Regions from separate parts of the Homo sapiens genome. Here region 1 is linked to region 2. The links are contacts of gene promoters, found by promoter capture Hi-C in human tissues and cell types (Jung and others, 2019). All regions are on one chromosome and are shown on one strand. Each heading gives the region's core, a stretch centred on a gene start or on the middle of the fragment in contact. The rest is flanking DNA. Distances are from core to core; before and after follow the strand shown. Region 1 holds the start of LOC124904014 (a long non-coding RNA gene). Region 2 holds the start of MAPT (microtubule associated protein tau).

What was found. Contacts are between HindIII fragments. The study calls those that stand out against the background at their distance.
Region 1: a contact is called between a fragment that was not itself captured here and the fragment with the promoter of MAPT in region 2, in 1 of the 25 tissues and cell types used here (mesendoderm cells).

Annotation. Positions count from the first base shown.
Region 1 is chr17:46,274,009-46,276,976 of GRCh38, forward strand. It overlaps LOC124904014 (a long non-coding RNA gene), which reads left to right and starts at 8. Exons shown (of 3, transcript XR_007065823.1): 1 at 8-83. It also overlaps a transcript of LRRC37A not described here and a transcript of ARL17B not described here. The HindIII fragment of the contact is 6,775 bases long and covers 1-2,968 here.
Region 2 is chr17:45,893,255-45,896,278 of GRCh38, forward strand. It overlaps MAPT (microtubule associated protein tau), which reads left to right and starts at 1,300. Exons shown (of 13, transcript NM_001377265.1): 1 at 1,300-1,432. It overlaps MAPT-AS1 (MAPT antisense RNA 1), which reads right to left and starts at 2,259. Exons shown (of 2, transcript NR_024559.1): 1 at 2,226-2,259. MAPT-IT1 (MAPT intronic transcript 1) reads left to right here and starts at 2,529. Exons shown (of 1, transcript NR_024560.1): 1 at 2,529-3,024. RefSeq lists enhancers at 1,243-2,128, 2,129-3,014. The HindIII fragment of the contact is 9,010 bases long and covers 1-3,024 here.

The DNA.
Region 1 (2,968 bases), core at 355-2,854, 380 kb after region 2:
CCCCTGAAGATTCTTCTCTGACGTGATGACAATTGACTGGGAATGATAAAACGAGGGGCCACTGCTGTCCAGGAGAATTCCAGGTACAATTAGATTCTTTTGCCTTTCATGACCTTGCAGCCCTCCCTCCCCACAGAGGCTTACAGATAATCATTAGCACACATTCAAAGACACCTCTGTCTGTGGGAGAAAAACTATCTCCATTTATTTTGTTTCACATACATCCATAGTTGAATTTTAATACAAAAAGAAAAATTAGAATCTGACAAATGTTTACAAAGAAGATACCTTCAAATAGATTTTACTCATTTCAACCTGGTGTGGAGTAATTGACAAATTGTACTGTTATATTCAAGTCACCAGAGTCTGTAGTCCAGGACCACTTAGCCCAACCTTTATGCAAGCTTGATTTTAATCTACCATGAACAATAAACTCATTGTTGATTCGCAGTTGTGTGTGTGTGCACATGTGTACATAGCAGCTCCTTTCATAGAAAGAAAAGACATCTAGAGGTTGTCTTGTACTTTTACGTACAGGAATCATTGATAAGATATGGATGGATTATATGTAACCGTGGCTGGATTTTATAAGAAAAAATAATTAGTTGACAAATGAGGGCAGCAATAAAAAAGCATCTTTTTTGCAACAATAAATAAATACAGTCAAAAGTTTTCTTTGAGACTCTAAACCAGCTTCTTCACTGAAGAGCAGACGTGGCATTTCCATGGAGTTATACTTGACCCCACAGTATCATTGTTTCTTGCTTTCTTTTTCTTTTTTTTTTTTAATAAACAAAATTTTCTCGCTTCTGCCACAATAATAAAACCATTTGATCTTGACAAGATAATGGTGTCGTTGACTTTTCTTTTTTCTTTTTCTTTTCTTCCTTTTTTTGTTTTTGAAACGGAGTTTTGTTCTTGTCACCCAGGCTGGAGTGCAATGGCTCAATCTCGGCTCAATACAACCTCTGCCTCCCGGGTTCCAGCGATTCTCCTGCCTCAGCCTCCCAAGTAGCTGGGATTACAGGCATAGGCCACCATGCACAGCTAATTTTGTATTTTTGGTAGAGACGGGGTTTCTCCATATTGGTCAGGCTGGTCTCGAACTCCCGACCTCAGATGATCCGCCCGCCTTGGCCTCCCAAAGTGCTGGGATTACAGGCGTGAGCCACCGCACCTGGCAACTTTGCTTTTTTCTTGTCCATTGGACAAAATTGGCCAATAATATAATTGGACTGTTATGACCAATAAAAACAAAGTTTAGGTCAAGTCTTGTCAGGATAGCCTCACTAAAAAGATCTGGCTCCTTAATTTAAAATAGTTCAGGCAACAAGATTCTTGCTGTGTTTTATGTTAGGTTAACATGCTGAACTTTAGGAAGCTGTAGACTGCAGTTTGTTGTTGTGAGACCTACAGAGTATAGAAAAAGGGAACAATTGAGCACCTTTCATTTTTGAAAATGATGCTTTATGCGGATGCCAAAGTAAATAAATCTGGAAGAAGCAGCCATGTTCTTTCATTCACCCTTGGCAAGCGAATAGAAAAGAACGATTAAGAAATTTTTAACCTATAATAATAAAACTTTTCACTGTACACTAAGCATAATAGCTCACTGGAAAAAGCCAATATTTAAAATATGTATGTATATATATTTGTCTAATAAAGATTACAACATTTTCAGGCAACTGGACAAATAGAGACATTTACAGAAGCATTACCATTGTGGTGAAAGGTGCGTGTGTGTGTGTATGTGTGTGTTTATTTACACGGATGAGGGGAATATAAAGGGAAAAATTATGCTAAAACAAAAGAAAAAGCAATTTTAAAATCATATTTTTCTATTAAAGTCCAGAAAGTCTCCCAGTTTCACACAGTTTTATTCACAATTTTTTTTTTTTTTGAGACGAAGTCTCGCTTTTGTCCCCAGGCTGTAGTGCAAAGGCGCGATCTTGGCTCACTGCAACCTCTGCCTCCCAGATTCAAGCGATTCTCCTGCCTCAGCCTCCCGAGTAGCTGGGATTACAGGTGCCTGCCACCACACCCGGCTAATTTTTGTACTTTTTGTAGAGACGAGGTTTCACCATGTTGGCCAGGCTGGTCGCAAACTCCTGACCTCAGGTGATCCGCCCGCCTCGGCCTCCCAAAGTGCTGGGATTACAAGTGTGAGCCACCAAGGCTGGCCTCACAACTTTTGTCAGTAAACCAAATTACTGTACAGTTACCAGGACTAAGTCAAAGGACTTTATATTGCAATAGCAGATAAATTTATATTGCAATAGCAGATAAATACAGTATTCCAATAGTTTACAATTTTTAAATACATTGTTTCACGTGGCTGCTAGAATAAATTTTTTACCACTATACATCGTTAACATTAAAAAATTATATTAGCTAACCTGACTTTTTGGGGGGCAATTTTGGATTACGTAATCACAAGGTACAATAAAACAGTGACCCCAACATCCAGTTCTGATTCCAGTTAAAAATTTAGACTAAAGATATCACAATCCGTAAGAAAAGAAAGAATATGGATGGTATAAATGATGAATTATAACAAAGTGCAGTAATGAAAACAATGTGCAAACAATGCTGGAGATCATAAATTACAATGGGAAAATATGGCAAAGGAAATTCTGGAAACCCATAATAAAATCAAGTTTCAATAACTGGCTAGTTATGTTTCATTCTACCTTAAATCTGGAAAGCAATAGAAATTCCCTAAAAATGCAACAGCAAGTTGTCTTTATACAATTCTTTGCATTGTAATTTTTTTCTTTTTTTCTTTTTTTTTTTTTTTTTGATTTGTTTGTTTTGAGACAGGGTCTCACTCTGTAGCCCAGTCTGGAGTGCAGTGGCACAATCATGGCTCACTGCAGCCTCAACCTCCAGGGCTCAGGTGATCCTCCTACCTCAGCCTCCTGGGTAGCTGGGACTACAGGCACGTGCCACCATGCTCAGCTAATTTTTT
Region 2 (3,024 bases), core at 50-2,549:
GGCCATTGGCTCATGAGACATTCTGTAGTCAGAAGGCTAGGGCAGATTGCTTTGAGCAAGCCCCCATGGTGGTTCTCACTCCTACTTCTTTGGGTATATGCCCCTCTGTTTAAAAATAAAGTTAATATGCATTTAAAAAAAAAAAGGAGAAAAAGGTCAGTTCCAGAAACTGTGTGAATAAAGCATTTTACTTGCTTTTTCTATTAATCTATAACATATGTTGATTTTTTAAAAAGAATATAAGAGCTATGCAAATTGGAGCTTCAAGACAACTTCCCATCTCCCTAGGAGGAGATGGCTGCCCTAAACCCCCCTACATAGAAATCATCCCACTGCTTGGGCTTAAACTTGATGTTGGGGAAATGAAAAATCCAAGCTAAGGCCGAAGCCTGGGGCCTGGGCGACCAGCAGAATGAGGACCACTGGTCAGTTTCAGGCTGAGGTGCGTCTTCCAGGGGACAATCTCTAGCTGGCCCTTAAACATTCAGACTTCAAGCTCTATTTACAGCATAAAGGTGTTTCAAAAGACGTGATACAAATAACTGCAAATGCTCTGCGATGTGTTAAGCACTGTTTGAAATTCGTCTAATTTAAGATTTTTTTTTCTGACGTAACGGTTAGATTCACGTTTCTTTTTTTTTAAGTACAGTTCTACTGTATTGTAACTGAGTTAGCTTGCTTTAAGCCGATTTGTTAAGGAAAGGATTCACCTTGGTCAGTAACAAAAAAGGTGGGAAAAAAGCAAGGAGAAAGGAAGCAGCCTGGGGGAAAGAGACCTTAGCCAGGGGGGCGGTTTCGGGACTACGAAGGGTCGGGGCGGACGGACTCGAGGGCCGGCCACGTGGAAGGCCGCTCAGGACTTCTGTAGGAGAGGACACCGCCCCAGGCTGACTGAAAGTAAAGGGCAGCGGACCCAGCGGCGGAGCCACTGGCCTTGCCCCGACCCCGCATGGCCCGAAGGAGGACACCCACCCCCGCAACGACACAAAGACTCCAACTACAGGAGGTGGAGAAAGCGCGTGCGCCACGGAACGCGCGTGCGCGCTGCGGTCAGCGCCGCGGCCTGAGGCGTAGCGGGAGGGGGACCGCGAAAGGGCAGCGCCGAGAGGAACGAGCCGGGAGACGCCGGACGGCCGAGCGGCAGGGCGCTCGCGCGCGCCCACTAGTGGCCGGAGGAGAAGGCTCCCGCGGAGGCCGCGCTGCCCGCCCCCTCCCCTGGGGAGGCTCGCGTTCCCGCTGCTCGCGCCTGCGCCGCCCGCCGGCCTCAGGAACGCGCCCTCTTCGCCGGCGCGCGCCCTCGCAGTCACCGCCACCCACCAGCTCCGGCACCAACAGCAGCGCCGCTGCCACCGCCCACCTTCTGCCGCCGCCACCACAGCCACCTTCTCCTCCTCCGCTGTCCTCTCCCGTCCTCGCCTCTGTCGACTATCAGGTAAGCGCCGCGGCTCCGAAATCTGCCTCGCCGTCCGCCTCTGTGCACCCCTGCGCCGCCGCCCCTCGCCCTCCCTCTCCGCAGACTGGGGCTTCGTGCGCCGGGCATCGGTCGGGGCCACCGCAGGGCCCCTCCCTGCCTCCCCTGCTCGGGGGCTGGGGCCAGGGCGGCCTGGAAAGGGACCTGAGCAAGGGATGCACGCACGCGTGAGTGCGCGCGTGTGTGTGTGCTGGAGGGTCTTCACCACCAGATTCGCGCAGACCCCAGGTGGAGGCTGTGCCGGCAGGGTGGGGCGCGGCGGCGGTGACTTGGGGGAGGGGGCTGCCCTTCACTCTCGACTGCAGCCTTTTGCCGCAATGGGCGTGTGTGTGTGTGTGTGTGTGTGTGTGTGTGTGTGTGTGTGTGGAGGGGTCCGATAACGACCCCCGAAACCGAATCTGAAATCCGCTGTCCCTGCCGCTGTTCGCCATCAGCTCTAAGAAAGACGTGGATCGGGTTCTAGAAAAGATGACTCCCTGCACGCCCCTCCCTGCACCTCCCGAGCAGTGATTCCGACAGGGCCTTCACTGCCCCTGATTTTAGGCGGGGGCCGGCCCCCTCCCCTTTTCCTCCTTCAGAAACCCGTAGGGGACATTTGGGGGCTGGGAGAAATCGAGGAGATGGGGAGGGGTCCACGCGCTGTCACTTTAGTTGCCCTTCCCCCTGCGCACGCCTGGCACAGAGACGCGAGCAGCGCCGTGCCTGAGAACAGTGCGCGGATCCCACTGTGCACGCTCGCAAAGGCAGGGTTCACCTGGCCTGGCGATGTGGACGGACTCGGCGGCCGCTGGTCCCCGTTCGCGGGCACGCACAGCCGCAGCCACGCACGGATGGGCGCGGGGCTGCAGGTGCATCTCGGGGCGGATTTCTTTCTCAGCGCTCGGAGCGCAGGGCGCCCGGCGTGTGCGCTCCCTGCCGGAGGCGCGGGGCTGGCGCGCAGGGCTCGCCCCTCACTGCGGCAGTGGGTGTGGACCCTGGTGGGCGAGGAAGGGGGAGGATAGGCTGTGCCTCCTCCCACTCCCGCCCCCAGCCCCCCTTTTTTTCCCCCTCGGAACGCGAGGTGCCATCTTTTTTCGGCGTGTCACGTCTTTACGGTGCCATGCCAAACCGGGTGGCCGGGCTTCATAGGACAGGGCGGGGCCTGGCATTAAAGGGAGGGGGACAATCAGCGCTGAAATCTTGGCGTTTTGCTGCTGCGGGCGTGAGCACTGGGGGCGTTCGCCCAGCACCTTCTTCGGGGGCTCTTTGCTTTGTCTGTAGAGGTTACGTGATCTGCGCTCCCAGCCCTGGTTTCTGGCTTTTATTCTGAGGGTGTTCAGTCAACCTCCCCCCTACGCCCATGCGCCTCTCTTTCCTTTTTCGCTCCTCATTTCCGAGCCCATTGTTGGATCTCGAGGCTTGCTGGGTTCGATGAACTCGAGTCAACCCCCCGACCCCCGGCACGCATGGAACGGGCGTGACCGCGCGCAGCCTCGTCTCGGAGTCTGCCGGCGCCGGGAAGCTTCTGAAGGGATGGGATTCGAGTCTCCGTGCGCGCTGCGGGCGGCGGCAGA